2 separate regions of the Homo sapiens genome follow, and region 2 is linked to region 1. Evidence: promoter capture Hi-C in human tissues and cell types (Jung and others, 2019). All regions are on one chromosome and are shown on one strand. The core of a region is centred on a gene start or on the middle of the fragment in contact, and the rest is flanking DNA. Distances in the headings are between cores, read along the strand shown. Region 1 holds the start of CHD8 (chromodomain helicase DNA binding protein 8). Region 2 holds the start of OXA1L (OXA1L mitochondrial inner membrane insertase).

What was found. The method cuts DNA at HindIII sites, captures the fragments that hold promoters and counts their contacts. A contact is called where the count stands out against the background at its distance.
Region 2: a contact is called between the fragment with the promoter of OXA1L here and the fragment with the promoter of CHD8 in region 1, in 2 of the 25 tissues and cell types used here (dorsolateral prefrontal cortex and hippocampus).

The regions. Positions count from the first base shown.
Region 1 is chr14:21,452,405-21,458,083 of GRCh38, reverse strand. CHD8 (chromodomain helicase DNA binding protein 8) reads left to right here and starts at 1,961. Exons shown (of 38, transcript NM_001170629.2): 1 at 1,961-2,052. It overlaps LOC124903283 (a long non-coding RNA gene), which reads right to left and starts at 1,687. Exons shown (of 2, transcript XR_007064064.1): 1 at 1,607-1,687. RefSeq lists enhancers at 561-1,112, 1,389-1,438, 1,449-1,498, 1,113-1,664, 1,529-2,218 and 1 more. The HindIII fragment of the contact is 24,117 bases long and covers 1-5,679 here.
Region 2 is chr14:22,765,436-22,771,390 of GRCh38, reverse strand. OXA1L (OXA1L mitochondrial inner membrane insertase) reads right to left here and starts at 4,703. Exons shown (of 10, transcript NM_005015.5): 1 at 4,627-4,703; 2 at 3,982-4,143; 3 at 3,220-3,433; 4 at 1,457-1,600; 5 at 1,113-1,198; 6 at 766-930; 7 at 482-586; 8 at 211-373; 9 at 43-123. The coding sequence starts at 4,689. It overlaps OXA1L-DT (OXA1L divergent transcript), which reads left to right and starts at 4,829. Exons shown (of 3, transcript XR_001750638.3): 1 at 4,829-4,967. RefSeq lists enhancers at 4,595-4,824, 4,418-4,981, 4,982-5,544, 5,545-5,955. The HindIII fragment of the contact is 11,434 bases long and covers 1-5,955 here.

The DNA.
Region 1 (5,679 bases), core at 712-3,211:
TCTGATAAATCTTAATACTAACATCAAATTGATATAATGGCAGCAGTAGCCAGGAGAGAATTTGGTTGACAGATTTTTTTTTTTTTTTTTTTTGAGACAGAGTTTCCCGCTTGTTGCCCAGGCTGGAGTGCAATGGCATGATCTAGGCTCACCACAACCTCCGCCTCCCGAGTTCAAGTGATTTTCCTGCCTCAGCCTCCTGAGTAGCTGGGGTTACAGGCATGCACCACCACACCCAGCTACTTTTGTATTTTTAGTAGAGACGGGGTTTCTCCATGTTGGTCAGGCTGGTCTTGAACTCCGGACCTTAGGTGATCCACCCGCCTCGGCCTCCCAAAGTGCTGGGATTACAGGCGTGAGCTACCGCGCCTGTCTTGGCTGACAGATTTTGATACACAGGGAAATGTATTTGGCCAAGTCTTTTTTTTTTTTTTTTTTTTTTTTTTTTTTTTTTTGAGATGGAATTTCGCTCTTGTTGCCCAGGCTGGAGTGCAGTGGTGAGATCTTGGCTCACCACAACCTCCGCCTCCTGGGTTCAAGCGATTCTCCTGCCTCAGCCTCCCGAGTAGCTGGGATTATGGGTGTCTGCCACCACGCCCGGCTAATTTTTTTTTGTATCTTTACTAGAGACGGGGTTTCACTATGTTGGCCAGGCTGCTCTCGAACTCCTGACCTCAGGCGATCCACCCGCCTCAGCCTCCCAAAGTGCTGGGATTACAGGCGTGAGCCACTGCGCCCAGCTTAAGGCCGAGTCTTATCACTCATATGACTTCTTGATGTCTCTGAGCTCCTATCATGTAAGACCATGCAATTATGTTACTCCTTGAGAAATTCCTTTAATAATCTGGAAGGATTCCCTCACTCACAACTTTAAAAAAGATTTCTTGGCCAGGAATGGTGGCTCATGTCTGTAATCCCAGCACTTTGGGAGGCCGAGGTGGGCGGATCACTTGAGGTCTGGAGTTCGAAACCAGCCTGACCAACATGGCGAAACCCCGTCTCTACTAAAAATACAAAAATTAGCTGGGCGTGGTGGCGGGAGCCTGTAGTCTCAGCTACTCAGGAAGCTGAGACAGGAGAATTGCTTGAACCCGGGAGGCAGAGGTTGCAGTGAGCCGAGATCGCCCCACTGCACTCCAGCCTGGGTGACCGAGCGAGACTCCATCTCAAAAAAAAAAAAAAAAATTAGGCCTTTAAAAAAAAAAAGGAATTCCTCCTTAAGTCCTGTTCTTGATTTCCAACTGATTCACAGTGCCCCTACTGGAAAATTTGCAGTGAATCCTAAAGCTTAGTAGCACCTATAATAGATACATGTCCTGATATTTTGAGTGAGGTGTCCATAAAGGATTACCCTAGGAAAGTGCAACTTTCACTCTCATTAGAAGAATTAATTTTTGCTTATTTGATTTGTTAAAATTGCTTTACTCCTACAGTTAAGTGAGAGGGTGGTGGTGGTTGTTGCCCGTAACCACATACGGCATTACTCCAGGGTTTCACGTCGTGACTGAGGGGCCTCCTAAGTGTATACAGCAGAGTATGTTCGGGCTGGACCTAGATAGTCGGACAGAACACCGACAGGGTCTTCACATTCTTTAAGCACTCTCACCCAGTCCCGGAGTCCGAGCCAAGATGGCTTCCCAGAAGTAGGTAACTAAGTGTTGTTTTAGTTCACAGCGCCCCCAATGGCGGGGGTCAAAAAAAGATGCCGAGGGGCCTGGCCGCCTGTGAACTGAGTCGTCAGAGGCGAGCCGCCGCCAGATTTTATTTTCAATCAGGCATATTTGTGGTCGCCTACGTACCCTTCTCATCCTCCTAGGACCTTCCACCCTCAAGAGACTTCCTGGATGGCGCTCACACTAGCTCGCTGGAAGAGGCCGGGCTTCGGTGCTGCCATTGGCGGATGGGAGCGCAGGGGGGCGGAGCCTAGGGAGAATGGACTACTAGCAAGCTAGATTGAGGCGAGGGCTGGCCATGCTCCGCCGGAAGGCGCCTTGTTCTCGGAGAGGGTGAGTTGAAACGCTGCCTGGAAAGGAAGTACCAGGACTTGCACAGGTAGGCTTCCCGCTCGCACCCGCTCCTCAGTGCTGGGCCAGGAGTCAGCAAAAGCTGAGGCTCTCAGAGATTTGATTTAAGTAACTCCTTCTCCTCTCTCTTCCACCCCCTGCTCGCCCCCCAGTTGTGAGGGATCAGGTGCGGGGTGATGCTCCGGACTGAACCAGTCTCCTTTGTGAGAGGCCGGGGGAGAGGGTGGCTGCCGGGCCGCGGGGTCCGAGCCGGGCCGAGCCGCGAGGGACTGCTTGGGACGCTGTGGAGTTTTCAGGGCTTGTCATTGCATTACTGGGCGTAGTGTAGATTGGAGGCGGCGCCTTGTTCTCCTCTCTTCAGAGAAGGGAAAACTCCTCGGCCCCGTTTGGTTACTCCATACTTTGGATTCAGAAATAGGTGGTTAGGGTTTTCTACTTCTTTTTATTTTTTTTTCTTCTGTATTTTAATAATAAAGGTGGGTAGGAAAGCATGGGGTAAGCGTAAGCAGATTGTTACTCATTCTCAGGTGTAAGTTCTGTGGGTCTCCTGGCAGTGAAGAGCAGGCTGTTGGAGAATGTTTAGAGATGGTGGGAAGAGAGGAGCTCAAGCCTTGCATCCTCCTTGACAGGTCTGCAGAGCTCACTGGTTTTCCGTTGCATTATGTAAACTCGTCACTGATAGAAGACCCTTCCCCCTGCTTTGGAACGAATGCAGTTTATTTACCTGTCTCTAGTGTCGCAGGGAATTTCCCTGCAGCAGCTGTATAAATGCAGCAGCCTCTTGCTTTTTAAGGGACAGTCTTGAAGCGGTTAGGGTCTTCACAGAAAAGGTATATAGTGGACCCATCTCTTTCGTATGGCTAAGCAAAGTGAGCCAGAAGTCAAAGATTTAGAACTCTGTCTTTTTCTATTAAAGAATAAACAGCGGAGCGCCCCAAACACAAGCCAGGGGAGCTGCCTTATCAGTGTCTGCTGCATCCTACCATCACAGCGGCGTCTACAGATCGTTTCATCTCCATGCTTTTCTGAGTTTGTCGACTCAGTCAAGGATTCTCAGCCTAGGTTAGCATATGCTGAAGTCATCTGGTGTGGGGCACATTACATATCGAAAGTGAGTTTGTGATTTGAATCGTGTCCTGTGTTAGTTAATTAGATCGTGTCTTCTGCTTAGGAATTTCTTTTGTATTGGTCATCCAATAGGTTTCAGAACAAATTCTAGTCAACCTCATAGAGCAAGATATGAGAAACTTATTTCAAGTACTTTGGAATTATCCCAACCCTTAAAAAAAGAGTTATGATAAGAAAAACATTTTCCATGTAAGAAGACCTTCTGCTGCAAGAGAGGCGTGTCAGTGGATCTGAAGGCAAGTGAAAGATATTGGCCAAAGAGAGAGTAGGCAAGTTTGAAGAGACAGGCTTAGGAGAAAGTTTAAAACTGAAATAGTGGCTCACGCTTGTAATCTCAGCACTTTGGGAGGTGGAGGCGGACGGATCACTTGAAGTCAGGAGTTCGAGACCAGCCTGACCAACATGGTGAAACCCCGTCTCTAAAAGTACAAAAAATACAAAAAAAAATTAGCCGGGCATGGTGACGCGTGCCTGTAGTCCCAGCTACATGGGAGGCCAAGGCATGAAAATCGCTTGAACCCTGGAGGTGGAGATTGCAGTGAGCCAAGATCGTGCCCCTGCATTCCGGCCTGGGCGACACAGCCAGAGGATAGCAAAGGAGTAATGGATTGGGATAAGGGATATAATGGAACAGTGTATGAGTACTTGAACAGTTTTTGTATTCTCCATGTTTGATCTGTCCTGTGCATCTGCTCTTTTGGTTTTGTCAGTTTTCTTTTCTTTTCTTTTCTTTTCTTTTCTTTTCTTTTCTTTTCTTTTCTTTTCTTTTTTTTTGAGACGGAGTCTTGCTCTGTCACCCAGGCTGGAGTGCAGTGGCAGGATCTCGGCTCACTGCAACCTCCGCCTCCCAGGTTCAAGTAATTCTCCTGCCTGAGCCTTCCGAGTAGCTGGGATTACAGGCGCCCGCCACCATGCTTGGCTAATTTTTTTTTTTATTTTTAGTAGAGACGGGGTTTCACCATATTGGCTAGGCTGGTCTTGAACTTCTGACCTCGTGATCCTCCCGCCTCGGCCTCCCGAAGTGCTGGGATTACAGGCATGAGCCACTTTTCTAAGCAAAATTACCACTTAAGATTAAGTTGTGGGTGTCAAAACTGTGTTTGCTTACTGAAGAAATAAGATTTGATATTCTCATATGTGAAAGGACTGTAACATTCAGATGAATGCTAAATGCTTTAGTGAACTGTTTGTCTACAGCTCTGGAAGAGTTAAGCTATCTTCTGAGCTTACATTGAGCCTAATACTTGGGAGGAAAACAGAAGACAAACATTTCTCTCGAGTCTCCACTTTCACCTCTAGAATCTCTCTACTTCTGGAGTTGGATTTGAGCCAGTCCTTGATCTGCAGGTCTTCGCATGACCTGTCCTTACATTACTGTGACCATTGTGGTATAATATTTACTATTTTACCTTTAGCATTTGATTCATTGACAGACTATCATGTTTCTTATCTCACTTTAACTTTTTATATCCCCTCTTACATGATCTATGATCTTTTATTCTTTTGTCTCACCAAGTTGGTGATCTTTTCATCTTCCTGTGATTTTGCTCACTTTCCTTTTCACTTAATTCACTGACGTTGTACACTTTTGCTTCTGTTTAGCTGAAACCTTTTAGGGAATGTAATTTCTGTATTTTTAGTAGAGACGGGGTTTCACCATATTGGCCAGGCTGGTCTTTAACTCCTGACCTCGTGAAAATTGAAACCTTTTAGGGTATCTAATTTTCAAGATGTGGTCTTTCTTTGGTACCTAGCACCCAAATGAGAGTTGTCTTTCTTTCTTTCTTAAGAGACGGGGTCTTGCCATCTTGCCCCAGCTGGTCTTGAACTCCTCGGCTCAAGTGATCCACCCACCTTGGCCTCCCGAAGTGCTGGGATTACAGGTGTGGGCCACCACACCCAGCCTGACAGTTGTATTTCTTTGTTTTTTGTTTTCTTTTTTTTTTTTTGAGATGGAGTCTCGCTGTGTCACCCAGGCAGGAATGCAGTGGTGCGATCTTTGCTCACTGAAAGCTCTGCCTCCCAGTTCAAGTGATTCTTCTGCCTCAGCCTTCCGAGTAGCTGGGACTACAGGCGCGCACCACCATGCCCGGCTAATTTTTGTATTTTTAGTAGAGACAGGGTTTCACCATATTGGCCAGGCTGGTCTTTAACTCCTGACCTCATGATCGGCCTGTCTCGGCCACCCAAATCGCTGGGATTACAGGCGTCAGCCACTGCGCCCGGCTGACAGTTGTATTTCTATGTAATGGGATTGTTGTATGAAGTTTTCTTTTTTTTTTTTCTTTTGAGACAAGTCTCCCTGTGTCTCCCAGGCTGGAGCGCAGTGGCGCGATCTCGGCTTACTGCAACCTCCACCTCCTGGGTTCAAGTGATTCTCCTGCTTTAGCTTCCCAAGTAGCTGGGGTTAAGGCGTGTGCCACCACGCCTGGCTAATTTTTTGTATTTTTAGCAGAGACAGGGTTTCACCATGTTGGCCAGGCTTGTCTCAAACTCCTGACCTCAGGCTGATCTGCCTGCCTCGGCC
Region 2 (5,955 bases), core at 3,454-5,953, 1.3 Mb before region 1:
GAAGAAACAAAAGACAGAATTTGGCCTGAAAGGACTATTTACCCCTGGCTGCTAGCTCCAACTGATTCCGCATGCGTTGTTCACGCTCTCGCAGCTGACGCGTCATTTCAGCATTTTTCCAGCCTGTGTAAAGAGAAGCAAGAGAGTCAGTTGCATTCCTATTTTTAGACCCCTTTCCCTAGTCCTTTTTCACAGAGGATGAGCCCTTACCTTTTTTGAAGCTCTCTAGGAAGCCTTCCCGTGGAGGTAATTTGTCCAGGTCATGTACAACACGCTGGGGGATTTTAAGTACAGTGCGTACTGCTGGAATCCGGAGACAGGATACTTGGACCAGGGAAAACAAATTGGAGGAGAGCCAGTACATAAACACTGCCTGGGTGAGAACACAGAGAAGGGACTCAGAAGCTGTATCCCTGGTCAGCTTGCTAGGTGGCTAGGCTAGGCAGAAGGCCTTGGAGCCAGCCCATAAGGCATTACATACCGTGGGGAAATGCATGGTTATGGGCAAGGTTATCAGGGGCATCATTCTGATGACATTTCTCATCCACTGAAGGTCAGAACTTTGCACACCTGTCTCAGCACCTAGCTGCCAAAAGAAGTGGGGTGGAAAAGTCGGGAAAGCTGTCAGTTTCAGTGAATCTGTCTCTAATCTCTTACCCATCAACTCTTTCTCCAGCAAGTGAAGGATGACCATTCTGTACAACTACTTTACCCTCCAACCCCAGTTCACTTTGCAGGCCTGGCACTTGGCCAATCTGGGCTTACCTCAAGAACAGCCCACATTGTAGCAGTGACTGCCAGTGGTAATATGTAGATGGGATCGGATACCGTGAGATCCTGGAACCACCAGAGGCCACCTGTCTGCAGGCTGGGCACAGGAAGGTTGGCCATCTCTCTCAAAGCAATGAAGAAGGAGATGAAGATTGGGGCCTATTACACAAGATAAACAGTGTCAGCATGCTTTACCAGAGAGAACATTTTCATCACCCCACTACTGAAAGCCATGTATAATCCACCACCACCTGTTTTTTGGGGGACCTGGGACACATGAAACACAGAGAGGAAATTTCATGGGTACTGGATGAAATAAGGAAGGAAATGTTTTTGCTCACCTGAGTCACAGGGAGAATGAGAGGTTTATAGAGTTTAATACCATGTTTTTTCTGGTAAAGTGCCATCTCCGAGGAAGCCTTGTAATCTGTGAGGTGAGGGGAAATTAATGGTTGGGGTAACAGTTACATCAGTGGAGGTGAACATCCTCATTATCTACCTGGCCTGTGAAATTTCTAACCAACCCTGGCCACTCCTTGGGAGCATTAGGTCTAAGAAACAGATAAACCTTTAGAACTTTCCCGACTGTGGCAACTTCTGATTTACATTGTTCCTTTCCCCCAGCAGAATGTAAGGAAAAGTGCAAATGTGGACTTCTCCCACGCTCATTCTGCAACTGACTCACACTCAATATGGTCTCCTGCTAACTTGGCCTCTCTGATTCGACTGGAAAACTTCTGGATCTCTGGCAAGTGATTGTGGATCCTGGCTGCCTCTCGCTGGCCCGTCACGATGAGAGGAAAAATCAGGCAGCGGGCAAAGACTGTACCTGGAAAATACAAACTAGGATTGGAGTGAAATTAAAGCAGTTCTGCAGCTAGAAGGTTGAAGGCTTTTAGGTCCTTACTGAAAGGGTCTTATTCTTGCCTTGTCCATTCTATGACTCATGCCTAAGAGGCCCAGAAATAAGGTCAGGGGAATGAATTAGTTGCTTTAAGGCTCAGTTCTCTAATTTGGCATCACAAAAGTATGGCATTAACTTCTCTAAGCAGATGATTAGGAATCCTGTTTGTTTCCTCAAACAAAAAGCTGACAGGAGTGGATTTAGCAATTATGTTACTGGCAGTTCGAATGAGGTGATATGAGTAAAAGCCAGACGGCTGAGGGAGTAAATGGAAAGAAGTAGGCTAATTGGATGCAGAGCAGTCTTTTAAGTAACAGCTATCAAAAGAATGAAACCCAGTCATCTGTGACAACGTGGATGGAACTGGAGATCACTATGTTAAGTGAAATAAGGCAAGCACAGAAAGACGAACATCGCCATGTTCTCACTTATTTGTGAGATCTAAAAATCAAAACAAATGAAATCATGGGCAGAGAGTAGAAGGAAGGTACCAGAGGCTGGGAAGGGTAGTCAGGGTTGGGAATAGTTAATGGGTAAAAAAAAGTTAGAATAAGATCTACTATTGATTGCACAACAGGGTGACTATAGTCAGTAATAATAGCATATTTTTAAATAAAGAACGTAAAAATTAGCCAGGTGTGGTGGCACACCTGTAGTCCCAGCTACTTGAGAGGCTGAGACATGAGAATCGCTAGAACCTGGGAGGTGGAGGTTGCAGTGAGCTGAGACTGCACCACTGCACTCCAGCCTGGGTGACAGAGCAAGACTCCGTTTAAAAAAATAAATAAAATAAAAAATAAAATAAAAGTGTAATTGGATTGTTTGTAACTTAAAGGATAAATGCTTAAGGGGATGGATATCTCATTCTCCATAATGTGATTATTACACCTTGCATGCCTCTATCAAAACATCTCATGTAGCCCATAAATATATACACCTACTAGGTATCCACAAAAATTAACAACAACAAAATAAATAACAGCCATCAAAGGAAGAAGATAGGATAGTAAGTGAAGGGGAACTAAGGATGAAGGGAAGAAACCTTCCCCCAGGTAACACATGGGTGTGCCTGAGCATGTTTACATGTTCGGGGTAGGGCAGTGAGGAGGGAAATGCTGAAGACACAGGGGAGAAAAGATAATTGATGGAGCAACGTGGCAGAAAGACACATAATTCAAAGCAGAGTTCTAGCCTTTACAAAAGCAATGCTAGTGGCTTCCCAATTTAGGGGTTTAAGTGCCTGACCTGAACCTCTGTTCTAAACCAGGATAGCTTCATGACTGTTAATAAGGTCCCCTGACTCTAACCCCATGTTTGTATTCAAATATCTACACTTCTTGAATCCCAGATGATCTGGTGGTTTTATAATGCTCTTTAAGAAATATAGGCAGAGTGCATCTAGGTATCATGAACCTCTATTGCTCATTTGAAATCATCTGCTCTTCTGACCCCAGAGCTTCTGCAACTACTTCCTGAATCCATTCAAAGAATTGCCATCTATGAGGTTAAATCCCTAACCCATGTCCAGGGTATATTCCCCTTACATGCAGCAATGGCCCCCCACCAAGGTAGGCCCAGATCAACATGCATAAATTCCAGTAAATTCTGGATCAGTCCCACTGGGGTGTATGACCCCAGCCCCAGTTCAGCGAAGCTCTGCTCTGCAGCAGTTTGGACTACATCTGCAGTCTCTCCAGAAGCCACCTCAGGTACTGCTGTGGGTGAGGGAGTTGCAGCAACAACAGGAGGGGCCTGAACCTGTGTGAAAGAAAGCCTTGTATTATATTTATTCAGTAGCGAACACAAAGCAAGTGAGATCTTTTTATAATAACCAGTACTGGGTTCTGTTCTCTCTACTTCTTGTTCTTCCAGGTTAGCCTAGTGTCTGCAGATTTCAAGCTTAAAAAGGACATCTCATTTTTATCAATAGTTAGGAAGAGAAGTTACTTTGAGTAAGAATCCATGACTTCCCTTCATGCTGGGAAGTTATTTCTTTTATCACTGTTTTCCAAACTTCAGCCATTTGAATATCACTATCATGATTTTTGCCATATATTAACATGAAACAATTGCTTTTCTTTAAAACAGCTCAGAAAACCAAATATAACATCTCTCCTGTTGTACTTTCAATCATTTCCCCACTGAATTGAAAATCCATCCTAAGCAGAGATGCTATCATTTTGGAGAGCTGTGTGGAGCGTGGACAAGAACTCTGCTCCATATTCCCCCTGCTCCCAAACAAAACAAAATATGAAACCAACCAGGAAACACCACTCCTAATATTGCAGGAACGAAAGGCCTCTTACCTGGACTTCTGCAAAAGAGATAGCAGAGGTACTGAGGCTGCGGGGGCCGGAAGCCGCAAGGAAGAGGTAGTGTGGGCGACAGCAGCACGGGGCTGCTGGGAATAGGAGCCGTGTGGTCAGCGGTTTCCCAAGCCATTGCGAGGGCCCTGCGACGCTGTGGACCTGAGCGTGTAAAAGGATGATGGAGCCCCTTTACCGGGAGCAGAAGTCCTCGCGTGGGTGCAAACGGGATTCATTATGCTAACTCCCCAAGAAGCAGGCAGCTCGGCCACTACAGGGGAGGACATTGCTATCACCGCGCGCAGACCGCTAGCCCGAAGGCATGCAGCGGGTGGTGCCTGCAGAGCGAAGCTCGAACCTGGGTTCCCCGCATCTCAGTTATCGCAGACCCACATCGGAGGGCCCTGAGAACGAGGCCGAGGTGCTCTCGCCAGGAGCCAAGCCAATTCCAGAAGCTGACACCGGGCTGCTGGGCCCATAGTGTCGGGGACTAACCCTAGCGCGTCCTCACATGACCCGAGGTCATGACATTCAGGTCCCGGTGAGCAGGTCAGCGTCTGCTGATACCCCTAGCACGAGCTGTCCTGGGGCCTGGTTCACTGGGTCAGGGCAGCATCCCGGTGCTCTGCCCCGGGGCATCCTTACCCGACGCCCGGACTGTAGCAAGCGCAGAAGCTCCCGGCGTCCGCACATTAGTCCCATCGCCATTTTGCCCGGAAGAGGACTTGCTTTTGCGCCTGCGCAGTAAGAACCACAACCCCTCGAGAGGAAGCACTTTTGGAGGCGGGCATGAAGCCAGAATTGTAGCCGCAGATCAGGCGGTAAAAGAGAACGGAGCTTGGCGGCCATATTTGAAGTGGGTAAAAATCTGTAAAGCCACGTTACCATTAGCACGCAGAGAGCCTTTTCTGGAGATTGAAAGGAAGTTGAAGAGCTGGGTTAGCTATCATCGTAAGCTATCATCGTTAGTGATGGCGTAAACCTGGGTAATTTTCCTCTAATGTCGCGATTGTCCTCTGATTTGTAAGTTTAAAAATAGCCTCAGAAAAGGCTTGGCTGTACTTGCAGAGGATTTTTCCCACTCAATGATGTTCGATTCTTTTGATTCTTATTGCTAGGTAATATTGTAATCGCAGGTCCAGTGAAATTTGAGGGTAGTCTAGAGTCTGACAGAAATTAAAAGAAGGCAGCTTCTGGGAAATATTTTCCTCCCAGATAAAAAGACGAAGCTTCCAGAGGAGACTTCACCTTTCCATTTTTTTCTTCTGTAAGTGGGGTGGTGTGAGGACTGACCATGAGGGGACAAGTTTCCAGATGAAAAGCTCACGTGCAGGCCGGGCGCGGTGGCTCAGGTCTGTAATCCCAGTACTTTGGGAGGCCGAGGTGGGTGGATCACGAGATCAGGAGGTCGAGACCATCCTGGCCAACATGGTGAAACCCCATTTCTACTAAAAATACAAAAATTAGCCGGGCGTGGTGGTGGGCGCCTGTAATCCCAGCTACTCGGGAGGCTGAGGCAGGAGAATCACTTGAACCCGGGATGCAGAGGTTGCAGTGAGCCGGGATTGTGCCACTGCACTCCAGCCTGGGCAACAAGAGCGAGACTCCGTCTCAAAAAAAAAAAAAAAAAGGAAAGAAAAACTCACGTGCTGAAGATGGTTGAGGGCAAAGATAGAAAACACCCAAATACTTGATGATATCATTGAGCTGCTGTACCATGCTTGGAACTGCCTATCTCCAGACTTTGTTGTGTAAGTTAATTAAAGGTCTTGGCCGGGTGCAGTGGCTCATACCTGTAATCTCATCACTTTGGGAGGCTGAGGTGGTCTCGATAACTAGGTCAAGAGATCGAGACCAGCCTGGCCAACATGGTGAAATCCTGTCTCTACTAAAAATACAAAAAACAAAAAAACAAAATAACTAGGCGGGCGTGGTGGTGCATACCTGTAGTCCCAGCTACTAGGGAGGCTGAGG